Linked DNA regions of Homo sapiens: all the other regions are linked to region 7. Evidence: promoter capture Hi-C in 16 types of primary human blood cells and fetal thymus (Javierre and others, 2016). All regions are on one chromosome and are shown on one strand. Each heading gives the region's core, a stretch centred on a gene start or on the middle of the fragment in contact. The rest is flanking DNA. Distances are from core to core; before and after follow the strand shown.

Region 1 (2,708 bases), core at 189-2,688, 450 kb after region 7:
AGGGCCTCAGAAAAAAGCAGAAAGCCACTCATTGATTCTCAATGCTAAGATTCCGTTTATATTCAGGTAAAATCATGTCCTCTGAGGCAAAGATGGCAAGAGAGAGGGCAGACCCTAGTCCTCCTGTGAAAAGATGGAAGTTGGCCAATGCAGAGGACTATAGTCTTGATCCTTGCTTCTCTTTCAAATGAATTCAAACTGACATTTATTGGAGACCGTTATGTGACAAGCAGTATACTAGGTCTCCAAATGACATAAGGATAAATAATGTCCATTCCTTATTCTCAAGGAGCTCATAGCCTAGAAATGAAATAAGCCCATAGACAAATGTGTGTGTCTGTGTGTGAATGTGTGTGTTTGTGAAAGGCAAGGATATACAACAAATAACTAACAGTAGTTATTTTTGGCTAGTGGCTTTAAAGGTATTTTGATTTTATCTTATTTGCTTATCAATATTTTCTAATTTTTATATTAAACAATAATTGTATAGTAAAACAATTTTTAAAGATTACAATATAGTATGATTGATACAACAATAAATATGAATAAGGTACACAATTACAACTCCCTCTTGAGTAATTCAGGAAAGATTTTCTATGGGAAGCCTAAATTGGATTTTGAAGAATAATTAGTTCACTAGGCAGACAATGAGGAAAGACATTCTAAGAAAAAATATGAAATAACATATCCCATGGTATATTGAGGAAGTTTGAAATATTACTAGTTAATTACTGTTGGAGTACAAAGAGAAATATGGAGGGGAGAAATGGAGCTGGAAAAAAGCCACAGCCCAGATCATGAGGAACCATGGATACCATGCTAACAAGCACGCATTTCTTCCTAAGGTTATATGGTGTTTGAAATGAAAGCTATGGTGATGAATGGCCAATAAGGGGTCTGGTAAATTGAGGTACTTAATGAGTTAAAGGATGGCCTGGAGCCATTATCCAATTCAAAAGGTAATAACAATACCAAAGATGACACTTTGGCTGGAATACCATTTAAGAACATTTAGCTTAGAATGGGAGAGTTTGACTAGATGATCTTTACAGTCCTTTTAATCATCAATTTCCATGATTTTTTGACATTTGGGCCATGATGTCCCTGCACACACTCCATTCAACTTCTATTAAAATCCACACAATTTGTTGTCAATATATTGTGCTAGATAGTTTGATGAATACAAAAACAGGCCTTTCTGCAGTGTCCTGACCCTTTGGCAGGTGGGGCTGAGAGTAGCCCAGATTTGGGAACTGCTAATGCAATCTTAGGTGAACCTGTAAGGAAGTCAGGAAGAAGGTAAACACCTGGGAGGTGGAGATAGAGGTGGAGATGGGCTTGTTTAGGAGTAAATTAGGACATCTCAAAATTAGCAACTCCTCCCTAAGAGGGACCATTATTCCCTCTATAAAAAGGCCACTCTGCCCAACTCGCAGCACCCTGAAAGCTGTTTCTGTCTCTACCCTACTTGTTCCTCTGGTGAGCTAGGTAAGTGAGCAGTTCAACTCCGCTCAAGGGTACTTAGGGCTATAAATTATGAAAGTCCAGGATGTGCTCTAAGGCAAAGAGGCACTAGATACAAGGCTTCTTTTTAGTATACTCTGGGGAACTTTGGTATAAGTTTAAATTTACTGAAAAGAAAAATGAAACAAAGACTAGGACTATGTATATTATCTCCTTTCTTTGAGGTCGCTTCCCTTATAACATGGATATCATGGGGTTCTAATTATCCACAGGCAGGTTGCCTTCTTTACAACTGAGCTTTTCCTCTCTATTGTGTAATAAGGTCTGAGGGTCACTTCCTGCTTGGAGAATGAGAACAGAAGCTGGATCTAATAGCAGTTACCCTTAGCTTCATATCACCTAGGCTTGTTGGCTTTGCTCACATTGTCTATTTTCTCTGACCTAGAAGTCTTGAGAGTTCAGTTCAGCCATTGATGCTCCTTAGGTTGAGTAAGGCATGTCATGTAGATGATGGACCTATGCCCACAGTATGCTTCGAACCTAGAAAGAGGAAGCAGATGAAGTGGAACACTCAGGACTTCTACAGCTCCAGAACAAAGCTAATATTATCCCTGGTAATGGCAGGAAGCCAAAAACAGAAAGTCATTTTTCCTACATTCATTCAGGAATGGAAATAAGACCTATGGATTATATTCCTAATTTCATCACTCTCTTGCTACATGGCTTGAACAAGTCATTCAACTCTGAATTGGTTCTTGATTACAACAGAATGAATTTAATCATGACTGACTAATTCTGAACAATTATTATAAATAATTAGAACTATTTATGTGTTTAAACAAGAAATAAGAATAGTAAGGGGTTGGTCTCTCTTTTTCCTCCCTTTAGGTTACTCAAACTTGCAAAAAAAAAAATGCCTAAACTCCTACAAGGCGTCATCACTGTCATCGATGTTTTCTACCAATATGCCACCCAGCATGGGGAGTATGATACGTTGAACAAGGCAGAGCTGAAAGAACTTCTGGAAAATGAGTTTCATCAAATTCTGAAGGTAAGAACTCCACGCCAGGATGGAGTTATGCAGGAATTTTCTTCTTTATCCCTTTCCACCTTCTTGTCACATATGTCAAACATCCTAGAGGATTGTCCTTACTTGGTGAGAGAGAACAGGGTTTGGTAAAAGTTTGAGATAAGGTCAAAAGCAGATCCGTGATGGTTTCCATAGCATAACTAACGGAAGTGAC
Region 2 (2,744 bases), core at 161-2,660, 330 kb before region 7:
TGGAACCTTTGAGTGGCATGGCTCCTTGGTTGTGGGAACAAATATTTCCTGAGGTGGAGGCTGGCTGGGTTGTTTCACCTGCTGCTGTTGAAGCTGAGGTGGTGGGGTAAAGGTCTGCTTCTGCTGGTAAGAACTCATGCTTCAAAGGATGCTGGACCTAGAGACAAAACAGCTAATTCAGTGCTTTGATTAAGTAGGAATGAAGCCCAGTTTAATGACAAATATCTGTCATTTCATTCTCCTTCAGAACTGAGAGCCTCTCTTTTCTTTCTTTTTCCCTGAATTTGAGATCATGGGATGCTTTGGTGATCCCCACTTATCTTCCAGAGAATAAGGTAAAGTTGATTTCTTCCACATCGTGTAAATGGAGCCTTTCTTTATGCTTCTTTTCTTCCTGGTACATCTAAAAACCTACGTACAACATGAAAACACATACAAATATGCAAATATATACTCTGAAGCTTTCGCTTACACACTCTTTGAAGAATCCTCTAAGCTCCTGAATTAAGCAGAAAGTCTTAGTGGCTTTTCTGGTCTTCAGCTGCTCAGGGATCATCTGAGGAATTGAGTGAAAAGAAATGCATGTTTCTTGCTCTTCCCTGATTAAATCACTTTTAATACCACTCTTGGCTGTGTGTCATTGGCTGAAGATTGATGTGACACCTCAGTTTTTCCATAAGTTGGAAAGATTTTAAGGTCAGCAGTCTAGAATCTACTCACTCATGTCCTCCTTATAGAGTGCGATAGTTCTCCCAGGAGAACTCTTATCTAAACTTCCCCCTAAGGCTCCCACAATCCACCTGGGAGCCTCTGTTCACACTGTGCCTGCTGCACATGCTCTCTGGCAGGCTCTCCACATCATCGCTGCCTCCCCACACATGCCCACCTCTCATGGCTGTCCTTCCTGATGCTCTCACCTTCCTCGTTTTGCCACAGCATGATACTTGCTTTCCCTCTCTGCTAATCACTCCCCATGCTGTATGTTTGCAAATTTTAGTCAAGTATATGTTTTCTAATGGATTATACATTCATGCAATAAAGAAAAACTTATCTTTTGATCATCAAAATTGCCAATGTAGTGCCTTCTATATTAAAAATTTTCAATACATGTTGACAGGAGAGTGCTCTTGAAGTGGGTATATTGTCTTGCTAACTTAGCAAGCCTTTACAGAAATCACTCCCCTTTTCTGATCCTAAGTTCCACACCTGTAATCTGAGTGGAAAGTCAAAATATGTATAAGGTCACCTTAAACAAAAGTCGTTATTGCATTTAAAATAAATATATTCATTGCATAGCAAAGAGATCTCAATCAAAATAAAGAAACTATTGGAGAATATTAAGGTGTTCCTAATGCGGAGACTCACCTGCTGTGCAGAGAAGGTCGAGGTGTTCAGCCTCTGGGATCTGGTGAAGAGTCTCTTGTTAGCTGGTATTTATATAGAAAATGAGCCCTGCCTTAAGAAAATTGGATTTTTTAAAAGACTGCTCTAACTTCATTCCAGCTTTTGTGATAAGTATCTCTGGCTTAACATTTTTTGTCACTTAAGCTCTGACAGTGATGTCACCTGGGCCTGACTCACTGTCCACCCTTTGTGGTGTGGTTGCTGTGGGCAAAGGTCTTCTTGAATGGCAATGGATTAAATTAGGAGGAAGTACCATGCTCCTAGGACTAGAACGAGCCAGGCCTCTTGGCCTGGGCCCTAATCTTTAGCCAGATTAGTCCTATTGGGCTTCCTCATGGTTGAAGTGGACATGGAAATAACAATAGGCATTTCTGGTTCTGCGAGGCCATGGGGATGGTGCAGAATAAGTGAATCATCTGATTTTCAGTCTCTTACTGGATTTGGACCTGGGAGGAGCAATGGAAGGCAAAATGCCTGCTTTGGAAATAAGTTGCTTTCACTGTGAAGGGCGCCTTAAGGTGCCGTGTTGATCAGGGATAGTAGATGTCATTGAGATGGACAGGCAGGATTGACTGGATCTGTGTGACATTGTGGCTCAGCCCTGAAGACCCTGCCTCTTGTGGTATCTTTCTTCTCCAGGAGTGACATAGGAAGAGGAGCGTGCTGATTCCCTAGGTTCATACACCAGCCATTTCCTCTGATCACTACAGGATGAACCTCAAGTCACTAACTCAGAGTTGCCCTCAATACACACTCTCTTACTAGACGCGGCCCTTGGAAAATCCAGACATCCTTACATCTCAGGCATGTGAATAGCTCCTCCTTTCCCAATGTTCCACGACTGTGTTACTCCCTTGAACCTGATGCCCAGCTCCTTCCACCAGGTTCTGAAAGCCCCTTGTTCTACTTCAGCGTCACACAGTGCCTGGTTATCATGGGTGTTAAGTCAATGGACAGTCATTGTTCTCCTGAATAGAGCTGTAGGTTCATGGAAGGGAGAAAGGAAGTGAGAAAGAAACAGAGATAGATAAAGAAGAAAGGAAAGAAAGAAAGAAAGAGAGAGAGAGAGAAGGAAAGAAAGAAAGAAAGGAAGGAAGAAAGGAAGGGGAGGGGAAGGAAAGGAAAAGAAAAGAAAAGAGAAAAGAAAAGAGGAAAGATAGGGAGGGAGGGAGGAAGGCAGGAAGCCACAAGGCAGTTTCTTGGGCATGATTCACTGTCCTGTGCCAGGCCTCCTGGTGTGAGCTGAGAAGAGGTGTGAGCTGATAATTCATGAAGGAGAAGAGGCTTACCCTCCCTTCCACACCCATGTCCTTCCCTCTCTGCTAGCATTTGTTTGACCG
Region 3 (2,915 bases), core at 1-2,500, 310 kb before region 7:
TGCATGGTTCCTGGGGTGGAGGCTGGCAAGGTTGTTTCACCTGCTGCTGCTGAGGCTGAGGGGGTGGGGTGCAAGGCTGCTTCTGCTGCTGAGAATTCATGCTTCAAATGTGTTTTTTTCTAGAGACAGAAAGCTGACACAGTGATTCAATTAAAGAAAGATGGATACAAATTCAATGCCAAACAGATTTTATTTCAGGACCCTTTAGAAGAGAAAGCCTTTCATCTCCCTTAACTCCCCCATTACATTTAAAAATGAAATAAGCTTGGATAATTTTCAGGCCCTTTGAAGAGGAGGAGCTAAAAGGCAATTTCTTCTGCTCCATTTTATTGGAGTTCTCTTCTTGGCTCCCTTCCTACCCAAGGCAACTTATATCTGTTCTGGAAAAATGCCCTACTAAAGCTGGCTTCTGAGGGACATGAGGTCCGCATATTAGGTCTTTTGGAAAATGGCATCAGACCACTTTCCTCTCCTAGTACCATGTAGAAAGCCTGTGACTTATAGGATGGCTTTATATTCATCTAAGCCTCTATGGTTTTGCTTCTGGTCTGTGCTTACACAGTCCCTTCCAAATGCTTTTCTTCCCATCTCTGCTTGTCCAAATACCCCTCCATCATAGCTCACATCACTTGACACCCCTAGGAGGGTCTCCTTGAGCAAGGTCTCCCAAAAGTGCACAGCCCTTCTCTGCCCATCTCCGTCATGCCAATTACTATCTACTTTGCATTTCATTTATTTATATATATGTATTACCTTCCTGCTAGGTTTTATGTTTGTTAAGTAAGTACGTTAGGCATTGATTTGTCCAAAGTGCCTAGCATACTGCCTTAAATGGAATAAATGCTCAGTAGAGATCCATCTAATAAATTAAAATTTCTATAAATATCTTGTCAGGGGGAAATTGCAGTGTTACTGAGAGTGCTCTGGGCCTGAGTTCTAGTTCTGCTATGAACTTCCCATGGGCATTTGAACAATCTTCTCCAGGACTCCCAGTTCAATGACTATCTACTGAGGTGGGAGCCCTAACCATCTCTAAGGTCCTTTCAAATCCAGACTGTAATTTAACTTAAAATAAAGATATTCCACTATTCTCTATCTCCCATTGAAACCCTGGATTAACCTGCTTACACATATTTGCCTTTAGCTAATTTCTAATAATGAAAAAGTACACTAGAATTGCCAGTTTGTTGCAATCAGAGACTTACCTGGTATACGGAGCAGAATGGGCTGTGTGGTCCCTTGGGTTTGGTGTGAAGGCAATGGCCAGCTGGCTTTTATAAGATGAATGAGCCCTGCCTCAAGGAAATAGAAGCTCTCGGGCACTCTGTTTTCATTCCTCACCTGTCACACATGACTCACACTACCATCCTCATCACCGGTTGGCTCAGCTTTTTTGATGAACACCACCTGATATTTTTTGGCACTGGCTGGCTGAAAATGATGTCACTGGCCTAATTTTCACTGCCACCCTCATCCTCAGACCCAGGTGCAGGGCTTGCCTTGAGGGAGGGGTGAGCAGCAGGCTTCATGGAGGGTTTCATGAGTTAACCCTGGGGGGACATCTGAGTCCTGTTGAGGCCTTGCCACCTGCTGTCCTTGTCATTGAGATGGTTGTTCCCCGTGTTCTGTGGGACAGGGCACTCTTGCACACATGAATAGGTGGGAAAGGGAGGGGGAGCAGAGGAGCTGAGGTGGGCCCTCCTTGTCTGCCTTGGTGAAGGTGGAAGCTAGAAATAATGAAATGGACTGATTATAGACCCCTTGTCTCAGAGTCCAAGACCCTTCCATCCATTTCCCCCATCTTTTTCCCAATTCCATTAAACTACACACATTCAGAATAATTTACTTATGACTCTCCCACTCTCACCTTCCTCCCCCTGACTGGTTGCTAATCTGGGAAAACCTGCTTTCCTTCACCAACCACACCTTTACCCTTCTCCTACTTCAGGGACTTTCAGGGGCTAATCCTTCTTCTGGGATCACTTTTTCCCTTCACTCCACCCAGACATCTGGCCCTGGCCTTTTCCTCCTTTCTGATCAGGCTAGACTGCCCCCCACCTGAAAACCCAAAAGCCTTTTCTACCTGCCTCCCTGCAGCCCATCCATGGGGTCCTCAATGCTGAATCCTTCTCCACTTTTGCCCACTGCCAGCTCCAGCCCCAATACCTAGAGATCCTGCTGGCTGCAAGGTTTTCCTCCTCCTTCTGGGTCTGTATCTCCTGGGGGCTTTCCGAGGGTCAGAGCTGTTCCTGCTTAAAGCAACGGTGTCCCCACCACAGTGTTTATTTCCTCATTTATTCAACAAATCTCAGTGGGGAGCCTAACATATGCCCATCATGCCTGTCATTCTAGGAGCTCTCTGATGAGGAAGCCCACTTTTCCTCTACAGATCATGAACTCCCCAGGGTAAGAGACAGAGCACAGTTGAGAGCCACTGAGATTATGGATCTCAGAGAGCCTTTAGTTCACACTCCTCAAGGGATGATTGGGGAATCTGAGGCCACCAGAGGTGAAATAACTCACCAAGGTCAAAAAAACAAACCCTAGGAAGAAAAGAATTTTACACAGAAATCCTGTGTTCTCCTTTGTTTTAATTCCTTGTGACTCCCTAATGTCTATGGAGGAAATTAAGCCCAGGCAGAAAATTGATTAGAGGTGGAAAGGGGAGCCCTTCCTGACTGAGAGCTGGGTCACTTGTAGTTCTGGAAAGTTTTAGGAGTGACAGCGTGAGGACACAGAAAGAGCCTTGCCTTGTGGGTAAGCCTTAATCGGTGCTAAGATAAATCCCTTTAAGTAGAAATAAAGATGCTTAATATTTGAGTGGCTCTAAACAGTGGGTGTTTCTAGCTCTGCTAAAGTAAGAAGGGCATGAATTAGAATAGGTGGAAATAAGGTTCAGTTTATCATTACTCAGG
Region 4 (2,982 bases), core at 465-2,964, 350 kb after region 7:
GACTCTGAACAAGATTGGCACACCCTTGCATCCCTTATTTGATCATGTCCCAGGCATTGCTGTAGGGCCCAAGGACACAAAGGATGACTCAGACCCAGTCAATGCTAGGGTGAGAAGAAACACAGGATTCAAGGCACCAGGGGGCAGGGGGCACACATATAAATAAGTAATTAATATAAAATATCACCAGTGCTATTGAGAGGTAAATACAGAGTATGTGAGGGAACACTGATAAATCTGGAGATGTCAGGTAAGGCTTTATGCAGGAGGTGGTAATTTTGAAGAATCTTAAAAGATAAAGAGAAGTTAAGGATGAGGGTCTCTCAAGTCAAGGTAGTGGAGGATAGCACGCAAAGATTTTGAACAGTAGTGGACCAATATGGGCTCGTCCAAGAAATATTGCTCATTCTAGAGTGACTTTTCCATGAGATACAGGTAATAAGAGGGACAATTGAAAAGATACAGATTCATGCCTATTGTAAAGGGGCTTGTACGTCAGGTAAAAAAGTCTGAAATTCTGCAGGCAAGAAGAAACCAGCACAGCGAATGACATAAGATGGTAAGCCAGCTTAATAGTAGAGAGAGAGGCTAGTTACGACACTTTTTTTTCTTTACCAATACCCAATTGAAAGATGGTCAGGTCCAGAACTAAAATTATAGCACTGGAGGTAGAGAATAGGCCTACATAACAAAATCTAAGCCTGAGTATAATTGATACGATGTGACATGAGCATGAGGGGTTAAGGAAAAGGAGAAATGAAAATGACTTTGTCTAGCTTGAGACACCCAGTGTGTGGGGGCATCATTACCAATATATGGGCTTCTGGAGGATAGTACATTTTGGTAGGAGGCACAATGTAAGTTCAGTTTTCAACACTATGGATTGAGATAACCATGGGACATCCATATGGAGATGCAATCTGCTCAACATAACAGTGTGTATATCATAAGACAGACCAGGGATAGGAGTCCCCTGTATATTTATGGCAATAAAAGAAAATTCATGGTTTAAGAAGGAAGAGTATGTGGAACATGTCTCTGATGCCACGATGTAATAACCTTGAAAACAAAGTAAAATTACACTAATGAGTCTTGCCTAATTAAACTCATGCTCCTAGTGATCACCACTTCTAGTTCAATTGTTCACATTCTTGCTCTGCTTTGAAAAATTAAAATTAAATTTGCCTATCCTCTACTGACCATAATTTCTAGAAGACGGCATTCATCTCATGGCAAGTTCTTCAGTACCCAAAGATGGAATACATAGATTAAAAAAGAACATATATGTAGATGCTTGTGATGTTTTCCTATCATAAATTGAATTTCAAGTTCTTATAAACGTATTAATATGTCCTACTCTTCTAGAGACAAGGATCAGGAAGTGTATTTATCAATAGATATTTACCAAGCACCTGTCAAGCCAAAGTGGGGTTACAGAAAAGTAGGTATGGGCCCTGCACACAAACAACCTGTATTAGCCAAAGGGACCCTTCCATAAAATTTCCAATATGTAAACCCAAATTTGGAACTTGCTGAAACAAGTACAGATGAGTACGTGAGGAAGCTGGGAAGTAAACACAGGTTGCTGGAGAAATAGAGGTGGAGATATGGGTGGATCTAGGTTTGGTTAGGAATGAATCAGACCATCCCACAGAGGGTGGCTCCTCCCTGCATGGGGCCTGCTATAAAAGGGCCATTATCTCAGCCTTCAGTACCCAGCAGGCTCCTTCAGGCTACATTCTATTTGCTCTTTTGGTGAACAAGGTAAGAAGGAATACATTTAATTTTGTCTACTTACTATTAACCAAGGTGGAAATCTGAATGTATGTGTACTGTAAGGCAAAAGGTTCTGGAAGTTTAGGGTTTTTCTCTTTCTTTTTAGTGGCACTGTCACTAAAAGGTTTATTTCTATATAGAAGGAAAATGAGGGCATAAATTTGCTTTCCATGGAGCTACTCAATACTCTGTATTGTTAGATTGTCCATTTATTCATTTACTTAACAAATATGTATTAACTACCTTCTACTTGGTCTTGGCTCTATCTATGCAGCAGTGAACTATATAAACTCCTAGCAGCTTACCTTTAATAGGGGGAAACATTTAGTAAACAACAATAAACAAATAAGATAATTTTAAATAGTGATAAGAACAATGAAGAAAATAAAAGAGTGATGTAGTAGAGCAGGGGTGTCCCGTCTTTTGGCTTCCCTGGGTCATAATGGAAAAAGAATTGTCTTGGGCCACACATAAAACACACTGACACTAATAATAGCTGATAAGCTTAAAAAAAAACTCGTAATGTTTTAAGAAAGTTTACAAATTTGTGTTGGGCCACATTCAAAGCTGTCCTGGGCCACAGATTGGACAAGCTTGTAGTAAAGTGATGGGAGGGAGGAGGAAAGTGCTTTAAATTAGATGGCCAGGGGAAGACCTCTCTAGGGAATTATCTTTGAGTTGAGATCTTAAACACAAAAGAAACTAGCCAAGGCAAAGGGCAAGATTCTAAGCAAGAGTAAACTTGTCCCAAAGAGCAAAAAGAAGCTAGTGTGCCTTAGAGCATACATAGTTAAAAAGAGGACCAGTGGTATATGGTGATGTCAGAGAGCTAGACAGCGTAGCTCATGTAAAGAGGGGCACAGTAGAATTAAAACAGTACATGTTAGATTTTAGCATGTACTTAAAGGGGTATTAAGCAGGAGGAGTAAGATAATCTATGTTTTTAAAAGACCACTCTGGGCTGCTACGTGGAAAACAGGAATATAGGAAGGCAAGAGCAGGAGCAGGGAGAGACTGCATTCTTTTATGTGAAAGATGATGGAAATAATAGAAATAACGAGAAATAACTGTTTGCTCATACCAAAATCTAGAAGTTATCCATGATTCCTGTTTTCTCATCACACTGATTCATCACCACGTCCAGTCAACTCTGCCTACAAACCTGCCAAATCTATCCATTTATCCCCCTCTCTGCCATTATCATCC
Region 5 (3,009 bases), core at 265-2,764, 440 kb before region 7:
TTCCTGGAGCATAGCTGGTGACTGCTCCAATGATTTTGAGTCTTTCCTCTTCCTCTTCCTCATTTTCCTTTCTTCTTCTCCAACTATAAACCACATTCTTGGAAAGCTTTCTGACTACTGGTCTAAGGAAGCTCTAGCAACATCAACTTAAATATTTAATATACCATGTTTAGTAAGCCTCACTAATTGCTGGAAGAGTTTACAAAAGATATGAAAGAGGAGTCACTATATGCATTGACAATATATATGTTGAGTGAACAATATGTACCAAAATGAATAGATGAGAGGTGTACATTGGGGTGTGACTTGATAATCTAGCAGGTCATGAGACTAGGGGGCTTATGGAAAAGACAGAGAAAGAACATGCAAACAAATTAAAAAACACTGAGAAACACCTAAAACCTGTTTAGAAACAGAGGGGAAGAATACATATTAGATTATACTTAATTTGTATTTTCCCCCAGATTTCAGACTTTAGGTGCGCTGACCATCTCCACTCTGCAAACCTACTTCTAATTATTCACATATGATAATGTGAGTCTATGCAGATTGTGCTCTATAGGGTGGTTTCAGGGAATCATATAGGCATGGTTCAATACATAGATTTTGAATGAATGCTTGTAATTTTGTTTCATGTCTCTCCGTTTCCTTAATGTGGTAGCAAAGAATACATTTTTATAAATAAAAAGGCGCTAGTATACATCCTTAATGGCAGCAAGTAGCAAATGTGCTGGGGAGACTGGCTGTCACTCTGGAATCTGTCCCAGGTGACAATTGCCTGTACAAATTGGGTGGAGAAGACAGCTTCAAAGAGGAAAGGAAAATCGTAAAATCCAGGGTTCTATGAGAGAGAAAGATAGAAGTGGAGGAGAAAGTTTCTGGCTTGAACAGGGTCAGCAGATGGCACAATGCGGTCAGCTCCCATCTCCAGAGGTAAGTATGATTCTCCCCTGCTTATAATCACAGGGAGGAGAGGTGACCTGCCTGTGGTCACACAACTTAGCAACAAAAAAAAAAAAAAAAAAAAAAAAAAAAAATCTGGGACCAGAACCCAGGCCTTTGTTAGGTCTCTCCTTCCTTTTAGCGCATTGGCAAATTGTACAAGGAAAGTAGAGGTGGAGATGGGTTCATGTACAACAATATGGCATTCAGTAAAGTGGATCAGGACAGGAAGTTTTATGATTTAGGGAAGGTGTAAGACAGGAAAGGATCATTGCCCCCAGTCAAAAAAGAGAGCCCTTGACCACCAGTTAGAGAATCCCCCAAGTCCCTCTTTGCCATAGGTCACTGAAACTGAGATCTAAGGCAGGGCCTCTGTGAGTCAGGAGCACTTAACCCAGTGGGGAGATCCCAGAACAGGATATTTCCTAGTTTGATAATCACTGTCAGGCCAGTTGTGGATAAATTTGCATTTGGCTTAAGAAATTACTGGATAAGTGTAGCTTTTGGCAGTTACACTTTCTGCTGGGAGGGGTAGCAGGCCCTATAAAGAGGTTTTCTGCTGCACGACTCCTAAACTCCTGGTACCTAAGCACCGATCTGCCTTGGAGAACCTGGTGAGTCGGCTTCCTGGAGTTCCTCTGTTCTTTGTGCCCTGAAATGTTGAATTTAATCTGAATACAGCAAGTTTGGTTGATCCAATCCTATGAATGTTGATTTGATGCTACTTAGTGGATGGAAATTTAGGATTAGAGCACAATGATATGCTATTTTAGCTTTCTTTTAGTACAGAGTTAGGTGTTCATATGGACAGAGAAGTTAGTTAAGGGGAAAGCTTTGATTTGAAGAAGAAAAAATAACAAAGTATTTTTCTTTTTTTCTCTGCTTTTCTGGTGTCCTTTTCAAAGGTTTATGTCGTAGCAGGTGTGAGAGCATGCAATTCTTCCCAAACAGTCGTTTTCTGTGTGCCTATGTCAACCCACTGGGATTTTACAACAGATAATGATAACAGGAATAGCTTGTGAGATAGCCCTGGGTATCTGAACTTGTGACTGCCTTTCTTGAAGATGTTATTTTCATAGAAATAACATGCTTGGTTGTTTACTACAGAGATATTTTCTTTGGAAAAATTATATGAGAAAACACAAGAGTTCCCAGGGACAATGAAGTAATTCGCTGAAGTGGAAGTGAGAAGCCAGGGACTCTTGAAAAGGGAATTAAGAGTTTAAATAATTTCTTGGAGATTGGAGAAATAATATGCCATGGTATTACATAAGCTTTGGCTTCTCTCTCTGGAGGATTCCCTTCCCGTGAACACTGTCATATAATTTCTTTCAGATTCTGAGACTCCAGCAGGATGTCTTATCAACAGCAGCAGTGCAAGCAGCCCTGCCAGCCACCTCCTGTGTGCCCCGCGCCAAAGTGCCCAGAGCCATGTCCACCCCCGAAGTGCCCTGAGCCCTGCCCACCATCAAAGTGTCCACAGTCCTGCCCACCTCAGCAGTGCCAGCAGAAATGTCCTCCTGTGACACCTTCCCCACCCTGCCAGCCAAAGTGTCCACCCAAGAGCAAGTAACAGCTTCAGGATTCATCAGGAGCATGAAAGGATAAGGATAATTGGCTCACCTCGTTCCACAGCTCCACCTGCATCTTCTCATCAAAGCCATCCAGGGATACACAGGGAGCTTCTTTCCTCTTAGCCTGTGATCGGCCTGTGATGATCTCTGATAGCAAAAGGTTTTCTTTTTGAGGCTGCCATACTGCCACTGTCCAGGTGGAGACTGAGCAAAGGAAGTCCTGGGCTGTGCCAGCTCCCAGAGCTTCAGAAGAAAGAGCAGCTCTCTCCCTGGGAACCATTAGAGAATTCTGTTGATGTTTTCTGTGTCTGTCTGTCCCCTGGGCATGAGCTTCCACCACCTGTGCAGTTGTCACTTTCCTTTCACTCCCTGAATAAAGAATCTATGCATATATATTTGTGAATGGATCTTTTGTTTCTTTTCAAATATGCTTTATTAGCAATATTTTATAATCATTTGGGTATATTTCCACTTTTCTTTCATCCACAGACAG
Region 6 (2,792 bases), core at 34-2,533, 320 kb after region 7:
TCATTATCACCTGGTAGCAAAGTACAGCAGAATTGGCTCTCCATGCTTAAGACTTACAGCTCTCTGATTATTTTTGTTACCCTCAAGTGTATTTGATATACTTTCTGTACATAAGTGAACATTTTCCCAAGGGTCCAGGCCCTAAACATGCCAGACTACCAGTGGATCGCAGAGTGCTGGAAGAAAGCTCACTCTAAATTCACCCTGAACATATCTGAAAACATTATTTTTATATATAGCCAATTACACTTTTCTAGCCTAGAAATGAGCCTTCACAAGGTCAGAGAATGTTTCCTCTCTTCCTAACAGCACTCTGTATGTTACTTTTTTATATTATTTGCGTTTGAGTGGGCCTTACACTCCTAAAATGGTGCATAATTTTTGCATGATAGTTATATATGATAAATACACAGAGGTAAGTTAGTATAATGGTAAACAGCAATTGCAATAAGGTAGATACAGGTTCAACTTCTGGTTTCTCTGCCTACTAGCTATGACCTTGGAGAAGATCCTTATGCTTCCAGAACCTGTCTCTATAAAATGGGATAATAAATACATATCTCGTATGAAGGTTGTGAAGATTAAATGAGGTGATAAGATCTAGTATTTGGTAACATAATATGGTAACTATAGTTAACTATTTATTGTATATTTTTAAATAACTAAAATAGTAGAATTAGAATGTTCCTACTACAAAGAAATGCTTGAGGTGCTGGATACCCCAATTACTGTAATTTGATCATTACACATGGTATGCCCATATCAAAACATCACATGTACCCAACAATTATATACAACTATGTACCCATAACTAAAAGTGCAGATTTTTTAAAGATTGAGATGGTTTGTTTAAAGTATTTAGCACATAGTAAATTCTCAATAAATGTCACTTTTTATTATTACAAAAAAGACATGAATTAGATGAACCTAGTGGCTCAGGTTCATTTTCAATTAAATAAGCATTTATTGTGCACCTTCCAAGTATCTTACACTCTGCTACTTTCTGTGGGTACTAGTTAAAAGAAATGTATAACATGAGTCCTCTAAAACAAAGTCTGTGCTTTTCACATGTATATGACCCTGAAAAAAAAGGTATCTTGCAACCATGTCCTCGTACTGGAAGGTGGGGCTGGTACTAGCCTTTCTGCAATCATCTGTAGATAACAATGTGAAGGAGGAAGGTAAATATGTAGAGGTGGAGTTAGGTTTGATGGAAAATGAATCACCTCATTCACTATAATCACTATAAGCTATATAAGGGTCATTATCCCAATCCATCGTCACCCTGCAAGCTGCATCAGGCTTTATCCTACTTGTTCCTTTGGTGAACCAGGTGAGAGAAAATTCATCCAGCTACATTTATGAATATTTGGTGTTGTCCATAGTAGAAGTCTAGGGATATAAGCTAAGGCAGAGTTCATGTATATTTTGCCTTTCTTTTCTTTTTTGTTTCTTTCTTTCATTTTCTTTTCTTTTTGTTTGCTTATTTGTTTGGTTAGTTTAGTTTATTCTGGGGCCTTTTTGTAGTTAAGTTCATTTTTATGGAGAAGAATAATGCAAGTAAAAGTTCACCTTCCTCTAGGCCATTCCACAGTCTGTTCCGAGTCTTTTTCCATGCCCTCTTTTCTGGGCTGTCCAGCTCAAACTGGGAGGCAGCTGGGTCTGTTGCAGAGTCCCTTCCTTATTCAGTGTTGGTTCCCAGAGCTCCAAGATCTAATTATCCACTAGTTAAACTGCTGCCTGCATTGCTGAGCTCTTCTTCTTGATTAATTAAAGAAAACAGTGTTTGGTCAAGTGCTTGACATTAAGAGAGTTCCTAAGCTCTACTGAGTTCTACTGTCTCATGCCTATGAAACACCAAGCTATTTTGAGCCCCTTTGCCCATTTTTAATTTGCTGAAGGCCTTAAGGGTCCAGTTTAGCTTCTGGTGCCCAGAGGATAAACAGATGTGCATGGTGGAAGGTCTGTCACTTTTGACTCAAGAAAAGCAGTGAAACTAGAAAGAGAGATTGAGGCAATGGTGTCTGGCTGGTTCTGGAAATTTTGGAAGCCTTAGAACAACACCCAGAATGCCAACACACTCAAAGTGTAGAGATACTATGTAGAGACTATACTTACCCATGACAGGAAATATAGAGACTTGAGGTCTATTCTCAGTTGAACCAGTAACATGCCAAGACTTGATCACAGAAAAGTAACTCAAAGTTAACAAAGTTAATTTTCATTGTGTTAAACGGGGTTGTATCATCCCTGGCCCATTCTTACGTTTTGAGATTTAAAAAACAAGAGGTTAAAAAAATCATGCTGGTTATTATTAAAATGAAAATTGCTGATAAAAGGAGAGAATATGAATAATAGGGTTCTTTGTTTTTCTGTGTCCAGGTTCACTTAAACTTGCAAAAAGATGACCGACCTCTTGAGAAGTGTTGTCACCGTAATTGATGTTTTCTACAAATACACCAAGCAAGATGGGGAGTGTGGCACACTGAGCAAGGGTGAACTAAAGGAACTTCTGGAGAAAGAGCTTCATCCAGTTCTGAAGGTGAGAGCCATGTGCCAGAACTGAAGGCTGCTGGAGTCCTGTACAAGCTCTGTTGTATGACCCAGATCAGCTAAAAAGTGCACAGCCCCAGTGAACTCTAAGCAAACTCTATGAGTGGTATTTTGGGGATGCCAGAAAGTCTGTTAAAGCAGCAGATATTTTAAAGAAAGTGAATGTTTCGTCCTCACTTTTCCACCTATGCACTCCTACCTCATAGACTCTCAGACTTTCTCATACACCCAGGCTTTTC
Region 7 (2,700 bases), core at 180-2,679:
ATCAGTTCCTCAGAGCAGCTTTTCATGTATCACCTACTCATGTCCTGTCCTAGCCTCATGAAGAAAATTACTCTGAGGCCCTGACCTTTGGAGGACATTTGAAATCTCAGAAGAGAAGAGAATGACCAAGACATTTAGTGAGTCAGAGATCAGAGCTTTATTATAACATGAGGTAAAGGAGGAAAAGAAGACTTGCAATTGGGGTGTTACATCAAGCACGAAGTTCTTCCAGGAAAGCCCCATGAGTCTTTGTGGTCTCTGCCAACCAATGAATGGAATGAGAGGAAGTGGAAAGAGTATCCATCAGGCCGTAGCAGGTTCTTGGCCATTCAGTCCCAAGAGCTCTTCTGTAGCCCAGGTCAGCAGCAGCCCCCAGAGCTGTGGCAGCAGCCAGAGCCCCCAGAAGGTTCACTCTCACAGCAGTCGGGGCTCTGGTGCCGGCGCCGGTGGAAGAGACGGGGCCTGTGGTGGCTCAGGGAGCAGCCACCAGCCCCAGAGCTGCAGCAGCCCCCAGAGCTGGGACCACAGCAGCTCCCAGAGCTGGGACCACAGCAAGAAGAGACTGCAGGGAAACATGGAGCTGGGCACTGTGGTGGGCATTTGGGGGGACACTTAGGTGGACATTTTGGGGTACACTTGGGAGGACACTTGGGAGGGGGCTGGCACTGCTGCTGGTTTTGCTGGCAAGACATGCTGGCAGGAGTTTAGTCAACCTGAAAGATAATAATGAAACTCTTTAAATATTTCAAACCAAGGATCATATTATACCTCTTCTAAAATCAATGCATGTGTAGAAGAAGAATGATATTTAGATAATACAATCACATCAGTAACCTGAAAGAAACAACTTGAATCTTTCCTCTAGATAAAAGTACGTAGATAAAAAATCAACAGAATGAGCTTCTTACTCTTCCTTTCAGGGGAAACTGCGATTGCTCTATCCTCACAAGCCCGAATAGAGTATTCACAGCTCCCTGAAGTACCTATTCCTTTAATACAAGCCCTAAGGACAAGCTGGGTGTTGCAGGACATACCAAGGGGTCCTCTGGAAAATATTTTGCAATGAAACCTCCAGATAAAAGAGCCTGGCTTGAAGTATTTGCCAGTTTCCATGGTGTAAATATGCCCAACACAGCAGTTTTGAAGTTACCAACATGAAGTCACTGAACACAGAATTGGAAAAGATGTGCACAGTTAGCTTTCCCCACCTATATGAGCTCCGGTAGGCCTCAGAGCCTCAACAGATTCGAGGCAGGCTGAGTCCCATTCCTGCTCAGTATGGCAGAACACAAGCACACAACTCTTTCTCCAGCCTACCTCCATCCTCCCCATCCCTCTGCCTTGCTCATACCCCTCTGGTATCCCAGGTTGCCACTCACCCTGGTCACACGCAGGAGCACAGACACGTCCCTGGGGAGTCAGAGCAGATGAGATGCTGAAGCTGGATGTGTCTTTTATAGGGCCCAGGCTTGGCTCTGGAAAGAGCAGGAGGTGGCTCTTGCACAACCAGGCACACGCTGGGTCATTCCTGACATTCTCCTGCCTCTTAGTCCCTGCAATCCAAAGAGGCCTCAGGAGCTTCCAGGACTCCTCTCTGGGGCTGCAGTCTAGAGAGGCTGTAGCCAGTCAGAGCCTCCACCAGGTGGGAACCCTAAAGAGTTAACTTAGGGTACCCAAGGGACCCACACCTGGACAAGATTCTGTTCCCTGCATTTTTTTAATGCATGTCCTCTGAGGAAACATCAGTTCTGAGCCACAGCTTTCCCTGACCTTGTGGAAATGTTCCATTATGACTCCCTCCACCCTGAGCAGTTTCTCTTCCATGTCCTGCTGTGGATCCAGCCATCCCAGAGGGCTTCTACAGCCTTGGCTTTTTCTAGGCATCCCTCCCTTGCCTAGGCTCTCAGCCCTTCCTCCTGGCCTCTGTGTTTCTGCTTTTCCTCCGACTCACCATGGCAAGCAGATTCGGTGGATTAAATCTGAGTTGATTCTGTCACCTAAAGCAAGGAGAATGATTGAGAATAAACAATTCCCTCTAAAATCTAAACATTTCCTTCAGTCAGAGGACTTGTATTGAATGTGCTACTGGAATCAGAAAACTTGCATATGATAACTGGGTAATCTCTGAAAGTTGCTGTAACAATTATCAATAATTGCTAGAGTATTACTATGATACTCACTGTGAGTATCAGTTCTCACATATAATGCCCATTATAAACCTATCAGTGAGATATACCTATCTCACTGAGCTGTTTGTAATATAAAGTGAGAAGCAAGAAAGAGCTAAGTATGACATTTTGTGCCTGATAGACCCTTAATAAATATATGTTTAATAGAAAAACTAATGCCATGTATTGGATACTTGCCCCGGTCTTATGTGTCATTAATTGCCCATATAGAGCCCTTACCCTCAGAGAGCTTAACTCCACCAGACACTTAGATTATTTGAAACCTGTCTTGGGAAGTAGACATCATTTCTTGGGGCTCCTATGCAGAGGGAACTCCTTTCCTACCAGGAAGTAGAGGGTCAGCCAGGAATCTAGTTATTCAGAGTTCTGATTCAGGGTTGCACTAGACAGAGTTACCCAGTCATTTATTCATTTAGTTTAAACAGATACATTGAGTGTGAACCTTGAAAACATTACACTACGTGAAAGAAGCCAGTCACAAAAGACTGCATATTGTATGATGTTATTTATA

What was found. Contacts are between HindIII fragments. The CHiCAGO score rates a contact against its expected background, and 5 or more counts as called.
Region 1: the fragment with the promoter of HRNR here is called in contact with the fragment with the promoter of LCE2C in region 7 in 10 of 17 cell types (neutrophils, endothelial precursors, erythroblasts and 7 more); the score reaches 9.8 in neutrophils.
Region 2: the fragment with the promoter of SPRR3 here is called in contact with the fragment with the promoter of LCE2C in region 7 in 8 of 17 cell types (M0 macrophages, endothelial precursors, monocytes and 5 more); the score reaches 13.2 in M0 macrophages.
Region 3: the fragment with the promoter of SPRR1A here is called in contact with the fragment with the promoter of LCE2C in region 7 in 11 of 17 cell types (neutrophils, monocytes, M2 macrophages and 8 more); the score reaches 14.1 in neutrophils.
Region 4: the fragment with the promoter of FLG here is called in contact with the fragment with the promoter of LCE2C in region 7 in 6 of 17 cell types (neutrophils, M0 macrophages, total CD4 T cells and 3 more); the score reaches 12.4 in neutrophils.
Region 5: the fragment with the promoter of SPRR2F here is called in contact with the fragment with the promoter of LCE2C in region 7 in 5 of 17 cell types (M0 macrophages, naive B cells, neutrophils and 2 more); the score reaches 11.0 in M0 macrophages.
Region 6: the fragment with the promoter of FLG2 here is called in contact with the fragment with the promoter of LCE2C in region 7 in 12 of 17 cell types (M0 macrophages, total CD4 T cells, neutrophils and 9 more); the score reaches 15.0 in M0 macrophages.

Annotation. Positions count from the first base shown.
Region 1 is chr1:152,222,923-152,225,630 of GRCh38, reverse strand. It overlaps HRNR (hornerin), which reads left to right and starts at 1,438. Exons shown (of 3, transcript NM_001009931.3): 1 at 1,438-1,488; 2 at 2,353-2,515. The coding sequence starts at 2,378. The region is part of intron 1 of CCDST (cervical cancer associated DHX9 suppressive transcript); the gene reads right to left. The HindIII fragment of the contact is 14,241 bases long and covers 1-2,708 here.
Region 2 is chr1:153,000,415-153,003,158 of GRCh38, reverse strand. SPRR3 (small proline rich protein 3) reads right to left here and starts at 1,410. Exons shown (of 2, transcript NM_001097589.2): 1 at 1,366-1,410; 2 at 1-157. The coding sequence starts at 138. The HindIII fragment of the contact is 2,627 bases long and covers 464-2,744 here.
Region 3 is chr1:152,982,416-152,985,330 of GRCh38, reverse strand. SPRR1A (small proline rich protein 1A) reads right to left here and starts at 1,250. Exons shown (of 2, transcript NM_005987.4): 1 at 1,206-1,250; 2 at 1-119. The coding sequence starts at 100. The HindIII fragment of the contact is 3,855 bases long and covers 267-2,915 here.
Region 4 is chr1:152,323,971-152,326,952 of GRCh38, reverse strand. FLG (filaggrin) reads left to right here and starts at 1,714. Exons shown (of 3, transcript NM_002016.2): 1 at 1,714-1,764. The region is part of intron 3 of CCDST (cervical cancer associated DHX9 suppressive transcript); the gene reads right to left. The HindIII fragment of the contact is 6,016 bases long and covers 1-2,282 here.
Region 5 is chr1:153,112,021-153,115,029 of GRCh38, reverse strand. SPRR2F (small proline rich protein 2F) reads left to right here and starts at 1,514. Exons shown (of 2, transcript NM_001014450.3): 1 at 1,514-1,556; 2 at 2,278-2,909. The coding sequence starts at 2,297. The coding sequence ends at 2,515. The HindIII fragment of the contact is 1,668 bases long and covers 109-1,776 here.
Region 6 is chr1:152,358,497-152,361,288 of GRCh38, reverse strand. It overlaps FLG2 (filaggrin 2), which reads left to right and starts at 1,283. Exons shown (of 3, transcript NM_001014342.3): 1 at 1,283-1,333; 2 at 2,383-2,542. The coding sequence starts at 2,405. The region is part of intron 7 of CCDST (cervical cancer associated DHX9 suppressive transcript); the gene reads right to left. The HindIII fragment of the contact is 5,522 bases long and covers 1-2,792 here.
Region 7 is chr1:152,674,008-152,676,707 of GRCh38, reverse strand. LCE2C (late cornified envelope 2C) reads right to left here and starts at 1,429. Exons shown (of 2, transcript NM_178429.5): 1 at 1,380-1,429; 2 at 139-713. The coding sequence starts at 692. The coding sequence ends at 360. The HindIII fragment of the contact is 8,836 bases long and covers 1-2,700 here.